2 separate regions of the Homo sapiens genome follow, and region 2 is linked to region 1. The links are contacts of gene promoters, found by promoter capture Hi-C in human tissues and cell types (Jung and others, 2019). All regions are on one chromosome and are shown on one strand. Each heading gives the region's core, a stretch centred on a gene start or on the middle of the fragment in contact. The rest is flanking DNA. Distances are from core to core; before and after follow the strand shown. Region 1 holds the start of CLDN8 (claudin 8). Region 2 holds the start of KRTAP21-1 (keratin associated protein 21-1).

Region 1 (4,638 bases), core at 1,274-3,773:
GGAAAATATTTTTATGTAAAATAAGTTCCTGGTAAAATTCAAGCCTCAAGGGAAGAGAGGTTTGGTAATACACAAAGCCAAGAAATATGAATGCGTACCTGGGAAGCAGCTCCCACAACGGCTGAGGCACTCAGAGGCAGAGCTTTCTGCTTCTGTCTCATGCGTTCCTGTGTTGATGTGGATAGTCAGCAATATTTAAACAGAGCTCCTAAGAAACATGCCACACGGGAATTCGAAAAGAAATTTCAATGAAGCAATATATGCCTTGACATCCCTTAAAATGTAGCTTCACGTAGTCATTATCTCAACCAGTTATATTATTTCTTTTTCATTTTTCAGTTCTGTCAATCACTCCTTTTTCCCAGTTTGACAATTAAAGATGAAAAATATCTTCTGTTTATATGTCATTTTTCCTTTTGTGGATTGCACAAAAGGAAAATCTTTAAGCTTTACTTCATTTTCTTTTCTTCTTCACATCATAAAAATGATCCTTTCTTTGAAATTTTACTTTCTCTCTGCTTCATCGGGCTACCTTAAATCCAAATATGGGAGAAAATGTTTTCTGCTCACTTCTTAAACTTTGAAAGTTTAAAATCTCAACTTTTAAAATCTTATTTTCCCAAGATTAATCTAAGTCTCCCTCCACCACAAATCTGTAACTGATAGAAACTTGATGAAGAAAATGTCATATATTTTCTTTTCTTTTTTTTTTTTTTTTTTGAGACAGAGTCTTGCTCTGTCACCCAGGCTGGAGTGCAGTGGCGCGATCTCGGCTCACTGCAAGATCTGCCTCCTGGGTTCATGCCATTCTCCTGCCTCAGCCTCCCGAGTAGCTGGGACTGCAGGCGCCCGCCACCATGCCAGGCTAATTTTTTGTATTTTTAGTAGAGACGGGGTTTCACCGTGTTAGCCAGGATGGTCTCGATCTCTTGACCTCTTGATCTGCCCGTCTCGGCCTCCCAAAGTGCTGGGATTACAGGCGTGAGCCACCGCCCCGGCCAAATGCTGCATATTTTCTGCATCAGCCTAAGGGACACCCTGAAGTTTGGCACCTCACAGGTCAACAAATGAGAATATTTCTGTAAATATTAAGTTTTAACTTTTTATAAGGTTTATAACGTCTGTTTAACAAAATTATAACAACTCATACTACTGTGCGTCTGTCCTGCCTCTTTTTTAGAAGACAGTCTACTTGATCCTCCTTTTGCCCTTTCTACCATATAGTTTTTGTTTTAATAATATCCACAAATGACTCAGATTTTTTGAACCATGAAACTCTCAAAGTTTAATCAGTGAGCAGAAACGATTTTCTCCCATATTTGGATTTAAGGTAGTCCAATGAAACAGAGAGAAAGTAAAACTGTAAAGAGAAAATCATTTTTTATGATGTTAAGAAGAAAAGAAAATGAAGTGGCAGCTTAAACTTTGGAAAGATCAGACAGAGAGCTTAAGGTGATCTCCAGAAGAAAATTGCTAGTCGAATTTTCTCAGATAAACATTTATGCTTAGTATAGCACTACTGTTAGAGCATCATTATTTTGAGAAGAAAGTTCAAATTGTCTTGCGTTTAGGGGTTTCTATGTCCTACTGCAGACATAATATTAAAAGGTAGGAAAACATATTTGGTTAATACCTAATATAATACAGTTTGGTAAATATAGTTCCCTTGTCTTGTAAATATCTTATTTTGAAATATCAGCCATTTGTATAGGCCCAAGGGTCTTGTGTCATCTTCAGAATTCTAGTTCCTTCAGCCCAGGAATTCAAAGCAGCAAGAATAACACCACAAAATAAGCTCATAAGCTTATTTTAATGCTATAGTGCTGGATACATAAGATAATCATCTGGTGATTTTTATTTTGGCAAAAAATGTTTTTATAAGTGAAGATTATCAGAAAAGTGTCAATGAGTATTTTTTCTGGCTTAAAGAACTCCAATATGTTTTCAGTGCCAAGGAGAAGGACAGCCTTGTGTATTTAATTACTTTAGCTTATTTTGTCCTCTGGCATGATCTGTTCCCTGATTTCACCACAGTAGAGCTTGCTTTGAAGTTGTAGAAAAATTAAATCAATCACTTGGATCACATGTGTCCCAAAGAATGTGGCTTCCCAGGTAAAAGCAATCTTTCAATCCCCTACTCTCGTTTCACTTTGGCATTTCAACAGCGTTGCAGAATTCTTCGGCAGATAATTTATTTTATCCCTTGGTCCCAGCAGCTCTTATTAAGAGTTTCAGAATTGCCTGTACAAGGTGCACCTTTCACATTACAAGGGATCGGCTCATTTCTTGATGCTTATGCAACCACTTATAACTATGCCTACAGGTAAACATACTGCTGTCTTCTTGGAAGACCGAGAAGTATAAAGAATGTTTATGTGCAGGTCTAGCTGTTCCAAGTACCCAAGTGTTGGTTTAGACACACCTGGATTACCATCCACCTTTTATTGGCTGAGAAAGTTGCCACACCTGATTTGTAAGTTTACCTGTTGCAGCCAATAGCAGGGCCATCTCAGCCAGCCAGCACTGGATACTATCTGGCCAGAAGTAGCAAAGCAGCTCTTATTTGAAAAACCACTGGGTTCCGAGTTCATTACTACAGGAAAAACTGTTCTCTTCTGTGGCACAGAGAACCCTGCTTCAAAGCAGAAGTAGCAGTTCCGGAGTCCAGCTGGCTAAAACTCATCCCAGAGGATAATGGCAACCCATGCCTTAGAAATCGCTGGGCTGTTTCTTGGTGGTGTTGGAATGGTGGGCACAGTGGCTGTCACTGTCATGCCTCAGTGGAGAGTGTCGGCCTTCATTGAAAACAACATCGTGGTTTTTGAAAACTTCTGGGAAGGACTGTGGATGAATTGCGTGAGGCAGGCTAACATCAGGATGCAGTGCAAAATCTATGATTCCCTGCTGGCTCTTTCTCCGGACCTACAGGCAGCCAGAGGACTGATGTGTGCTGCTTCCGTGATGTCCTTCTTGGCTTTCATGATGGCCATCCTTGGCATGAAATGCACCAGGTGCACGGGGGACAATGAGAAGGTGAAGGCTCACATTCTGCTGACGGCTGGAATCATCTTCATCATCACGGGCATGGTGGTGCTCATCCCTGTGAGCTGGGTTGCCAATGCCATCATCAGAGATTTCTATAACTCAATAGTGAATGTTGCCCAAAAACGTGAGCTTGGAGAAGCTCTCTACTTAGGATGGACCACGGCACTGGTGCTGATTGTTGGAGGAGCTCTGTTCTGCTGCGTTTTTTGTTGCAACGAAAAGAGCAGTAGCTACAGATACTCGATACCTTCCCATCGCACAACCCAAAAAAGTTATCACACCGGAAAGAAGTCACCGAGCGTCTACTCCAGAAGTCAGTATGTGTAGTTGTGTATGTTTTTTTAACTTTACTATAAAGCCATGCAAATGACAAAAATCTATATTACTTTCTCAAAATGGACCCCAAAGAAACTTTGATTTACTGTTCTTAACTGCCTAATCTTAATTACAGGAACTGTGCATCAGCTATTTATGATTCTATAAGCTATTTCAGCAGAATGAGATATTAAACCCAATGCTTTGATTGTTCTAGAAAGTATAGTAATTTGTTTTCTAAGGTGGTTCAAGCATCTACTCTTTTTATCATTTACTTCAAAATGACATTGCTAAAGACTGCATTATTTTACTACTGTAATTTCTCCACGACATAGCATTATGTACATAGATGAGTGTAACATTTATATCTCACATAGAGACATGCTTATATGGTTTTATTTAAAATGAAATGCCAGTCCATTACACTGAATAAATAGAACTCAACTATTGCTTTTCAGGGAAATCATGGATAGGGTTGAAGAAGGTTACTATTAATTGTTTAAAAACAGCTTAGGGATTAATGTCCTCCATTTATAATGAAGATTAAAATGAAGGCTTTAATCAGCATTGTAAAGGAAATTGAATGGCTTTCTGATATGCTGTTTTTTAGCCTAGGAGTTAGAAATCCTAACTTCTTTATCCTCTTCTCCCAGAGGCTTTTTTTTTCTTGTGTATTAAATTAACATTTTTAAAAAGCAGATATTTTGTCAAGGGGCTTTGCATTCAAACTGCTTTTCCAGGGCTATACTCAGAAGAAAGATAAAAGTGTGATCTAAGAAAAAGTGATGGTTTTAGGAAAGTGAAAATATTTTTGTTTTTGTATTTGAAGAAGAATGATGCATTTTGACAAGAAATCATATATGTATGGATATATTTTAATAAGTATTTGAGTACAGACTTTGAGGTTTCATCAATATAAATAAAAGAGCAGAAAAATATGTCTTGGTTTTCATTTGCTTACCAAAAAAACAACAACAAAAAAAGTTGTCCTTTGAGAACTTCACCTGCTCCTATGTGGGTACCTGAGTCAAAATTGTCATTTTTGTTCTGTGAAAAATAAATTTCCTTCTTGTACCATTTCTGTTTAGTTTTACTAAAATCTGTAAATACTGTATTTTTCTGTTTATTCCAAATTTGATGAAACTGACAATCCAATTTGAAAGTTTGTGTCGACGTCTGTCTAGCTTAAATGAATGTGTTCTATTTGCTTTATACATTTATATTAATAAATTGTACATTTTTCTAATTATTTGACATTCTTTCACAAGTCTCCTTTTG
Region 2 (4,638 bases), core at 725-3,224, 540 kb before region 1:
AACAGGTCCAAGCACTAATTACAGGTATCCTCTTGCAGAATCACCATGGCCCTGCTATGACTATAAAGATAAAATTTGTAAAAATATTAGAGAAAATAAAGATGCCATACACATTAGACAATTTTGGAATGTCGTATAAATTTTATGGCTCAACACCAATTCCTGAGTTCTGACCATGTTTTCAGCCTCAGTAGAAAAAATTTTCTTTGTGGCACCAATATCATGTCTACAGTCTTACCTAGACTAGACCCAAATTGAAGCTACAGTCATATCTAGACTAGACCCAAATTGAAGCTACAGTGGCTTCAGTTTGGGTCTAGTCTTTGACTCCTATTGACTCTTAAGTTCCTCTTATGTAAAATGTGGATTGGGTCTCAGGTTTGCCTGGAATTTCTACTGTGAAAGGTATAGTCTCTTTCCTCAAGAATATCATGCTTTTATTAGTAAACAGGATAAAGTTTCACCAAAGCATGACAAATCTATTATATTCGTCTGCATATAGGAGCAAACAAGAGGATCCACTTGTGAAGTAGAATTTATAGTTTTGAATTTCAAGGATGAAAAAACAGAAAGAAACTAAAGGAAAAGAAAAAATTGAGACAGAGATCTATTTATGCTTTTTTTAAGGGACTAAACATAGCAGAGAAATGAGATGAGACGAGTGACAGATAGCAGAAAAAAAAGGAAAGATTTCCAACTGAAGGGAAAATGTAATCCACAGTAGCAATGAGGAAAGGCATCCTGTAGAAAGTGATTCCAGATCTGACTTTTGATGTATAAACAGAAGGTTTTTTTGGTTGATAATTGAGGGTGATGAGAAAAATACTAATGGCAGAAAAAATGATACTAATTTTCCTCTTTTGTATCTTGAAAAGGTAAGTGTGATAGAGAGGATTGTTGGGAAGAAGGAGGGCACCTCGGATTTCAAAATCACGATGAATATTTTTGTAGAAGATTGAGAACTTGTAATAAGTGGGTAATTGAGAATTTTGAATGAGTAGTGTGAAATGCGTGTATGGAAACGGGACAAAATTTATTTTTGTGCTACTTTATATCATAGAAGGGTTAGTTGTTAATGGTGGGCTTTTGCTGTCAGTAACCTAAAATTGTCCACTATCCTTTAGCTTCTGAAGTAAATGTCCAAGGAATAGTAGTGAAAGGAGAAGAAAAATGGTTTATTAAATTCTAGGAATGTATCTGTATTTCATCATGCAAAACTTTGATGAAATCTGTATTGGAGGAAAGAACTGAGTTTCTGGTCGAATGAATTTTTTTACTTCCTTATCCAAATGAAGCTGTTTAGTTTTAAAAAGGCTCCTCAATGACAATTACTTATATAGCTGAAGAAATGGGAGACAAAAGGAGGGCTTCTCTGCCTCCCCAGGGTCTTGGTTTGCCTGGTGGATGGAAGGAAAATGTAGGAAGCACTTGCAGATAGCATACATTCTGGCTTTGAATGATCAGATGTGAATATGTTTCTTGGGATTTGAGGGAGGTTGGACAAGGGGTAGGTGTGGAAGTGCAGAGTGAGTTGGAGAAAGAAGTCTGGCAAGAAGTTGTAATGACTCAGGAAAGGAGATAGGAGTGTCTCCTTCCCTATGGGTAGAGGTAGACATTTTAGGAAAAAAGAGAGGAAAAAAAGGATAAAATTTTGTTATTATCCTCCCAAAACTTGTTATGTAAGATATAAATTTACTGATAGGAGATTTTGAAAATTAGTATCAGCTTTATATTTGGGCACATGATTTCATTGAGGCAGTTCTTTGGCAGAGCAGATTAAAATGATGTTCCTGAAATGAAACTAGAGTCTCCAAAATAATTGGCTCATTTTAAGCAAAATATTATTGATGGTCAACAGTGACTGGCACATAATAATTGATTAAATATTTGTTGCCTAAGTCAGGGAATGAGTGATATGCTTTGGCAATTACTGACAGTATATAAAGGTCTCAGGGAAGTAGAAGACATCCACACCTCAGAAGCATCTTCTTGAAACCCATCTCAATTCTCTCCTCTTGACAACATGTGTTGCAACTACTACGGCAACTCCTGTGGCTATGGCTCCGGCTGTGGCTGTGGCTATGGCTCTGGCTCTGGCTGTGGCTGTGGCTATGGAACTGGCTATGGCTGTGGGTATGGCTGTGGGTTTGGCTCCCATTATGGCTGTGGTTATGGAACTGGCTATGGCTGTGGATATGGCTCTGGCTCTGGCTACTGTGGCTACCGGCCATTTTGCTTTAGAAGATGCTATTCTTCCTGCTAAAACATCACTGTCGGAGGACCATTTGCTTCTAAAATGACACGTCTGAAGATAATGCTGATTCAAGGATTCGTACTCCAAGATTTCTATATCCAAGAATTACATGCTTGACAGAATCTTCGACCTCTAGCCTCACATTTCTTTGAATGAAATCATGGCCATAGGATCCATGGTGTCATCTGACTGTTTTCCAAATGTTATCTTTTGCTCCCTTAATCTCTGATTCTCTGTTATGACTGTGTTAATGATCATAACATCTACAGTTGCGGAAGTCAATCATTTGTAATAAAAATGGTTCTTTATTCCTAAAAATCTTTGTGTACTTGCTTGTGAATTACTCTTTCTTGGGGTGTTTTGGAATCTCTTGAAAATTGGGCTAACAGTATGTTGGCTGAACCTTAGGTACTTCCTTGATATAACGCAATTATTTCCTCTTATGCTTGCATCATAAATAATGTCTTCTCTACCTGCTTCTCATATCCCACATGCTCAGGTTCTCACATACCCAAGCACAAATCACAGAGTATTTCAGAACTGTGCTTTGGAAATGGCACTGAGTGTCTAGAATGGAGCTGGAGGGGGAAAGGGAGGCAAAGTGACACCTATTCAGGATGTTATGACAAAAGTCTCAGGGAGGAGATATAGCCTGAGTGCTTAAAGAAGTAATATAATCCCAGCACTTTGGGAGGCTGAGGTGGGTGGATCACCTGAGGTCAGGAGTTCGAGACCAGCCTGGCCAACATTGTGAAACTCTGTTTCTACTAAAAATACAAAAATTAGCTGGGCTTGGTGGTGCGTGCCTGTAATTCCATCTACTCAGGAGGTGGAGACAGGAGAATTGCTTGAACCCTTAGGAGGTGGAGGTTGCAGTGAGCCGAGATTGCTTGGGTGACACACTGAGACTCCATCACACACACAAAAAAAAGTAATGCAATAGGAGAGATCACTTCCAGGATTGTTGAAAATTTTGAGTCAGGGTCAAGTGTTAGGCAAGAGGAAATAAAAACCTAAAAAAGGGTAAGTTCAAAGAAAAAATATACTATCAAATGTATCTACATCTGACAAAAGTACAAATATATATGTTTGCTTACATGGAGGTTGAGAAATGCTATTTAATTCACTTAAATATTTTTGAATAGACACCATCCTGAAGACACAGAAGAAAAATTATAAGCAAATGTTCTGCTCTCAGAATGTTTATAGTCTAACAGATGAAGATTTAAAGAAGCAAAAATAGGCCAGATGTGGTGGCTCATGCCTGTTAATCCCTGCACTTTGGGAGGCTGAGGCAGGTGGATCACTTGAGGTCAGGAGTTCGAGACCAGCCTGGCCAACATGGCGAAACCCCGTCTCTACTAAGAATACAAAAATTAGCCAGGCGTGGTGATGGGCGCCTGTAATCCCAGCTACTTGGGAGGCTGAGGCACGAGAATCGCTTGAACCTGGGAGATGGAGGTTGCAGTGAGCCAAGATTGCGTCATTGCACTCCAGCCCGGGCAACAAGAGCAAAACTCTGTCTAAAATAATTAATAATAATAATAATAATAATAATGAAGCAAAAACTAATTATAACAAATTCAGACAGATAATTGCTATAGAGGGAATGAAACAGCTTAATGGAGAGGAGATTAAGGTTTGAAGTACTGGAGAGACAGCTCAGGGAAGTATCTTGAGGTTATGACATTTGAGCTCATAATACAACATTTCCAGCAGCAAAGAAAGACTAAAAAGGACAGTAGCAAATGCCAAGGGGGACAGCAGTTCATTAAGTTTTGGGTATGATGAAGGTGATGACACATTTTTCAGTTAGAAAAGAGCAAGGTCTAGTATCTTAATGGAGTTCTTTTTAGATTGGGGTGGTCATAAAAATGAGATTAAAGGGTCTGTTCTAGTTTCCTGGCTGACTTTCTGATGTGGAGTGTTTACTGCTTCTTTGATTCTGATTTTAGTGTCCTTTCCTCCAGTTCTAGACCATCCAAACTCTATCACTGAAATCTTACAACAGAGAAAGTCTTCTGGATTCAGTAGAAACTTGTTATAATCAGCAGTAATAAATGTGTCCCTGTTTCATCCACACAACAGGGACCATTACACCAAGTCTGGCTCTCTGAGGTCCCTGGAGCTGGGTGACCCCACAAAATGCCTGGCTCTAAGAAAGATAGCCCTACAATCAATATCAGCCCAGGAGGAAATCTATGTCCAGGATAGAATCTGTCCGACTGATGGACAATAGGGGTTTCTTCCAAGAGCAGGATAGCTTTCCCATCTGGAGTATTTGTGAGTCAGATCTGAGGACTAACTGTGCTGTCTGGAACTCTGAAGTTATTATAGTATTACAAGCAGTGGATAACACTTAACTTATCTTCAAAACCTGAAAT

Evidence for each region. The method cuts DNA at HindIII sites, captures the fragments that hold promoters and counts their contacts. A contact is called where the count stands out against the background at its distance.
Region 2: the fragment with the promoter of KRTAP21-1 here is called in contact with the fragment with the promoter of CLDN8 in region 1 in 1 of the 25 tissues and cell types used here (heart right ventricle).

What each region holds. Positions count from the first base shown.
Region 1 is chr21:30,213,982-30,218,619 of GRCh38, reverse strand. CLDN8 (claudin 8) reads left to right here and starts at 2,523. Exons shown (of 1, transcript NM_199328.3): 1 at 2,523-4,614. The coding sequence starts at 2,695. The coding sequence ends at 3,372. The HindIII fragment of the contact is 13,225 bases long and covers 1,126-4,638 here.
Region 2 is chr21:30,752,764-30,757,401 of GRCh38, reverse strand. KRTAP21-1 (keratin associated protein 21-1) reads left to right here and starts at 1,974. Exons shown (of 1, transcript NM_181619.2): 1 at 1,974-2,387. The coding sequence starts at 2,024. The coding sequence ends at 2,263. The HindIII fragment of the contact is 10,114 bases long and covers 1-4,638 here.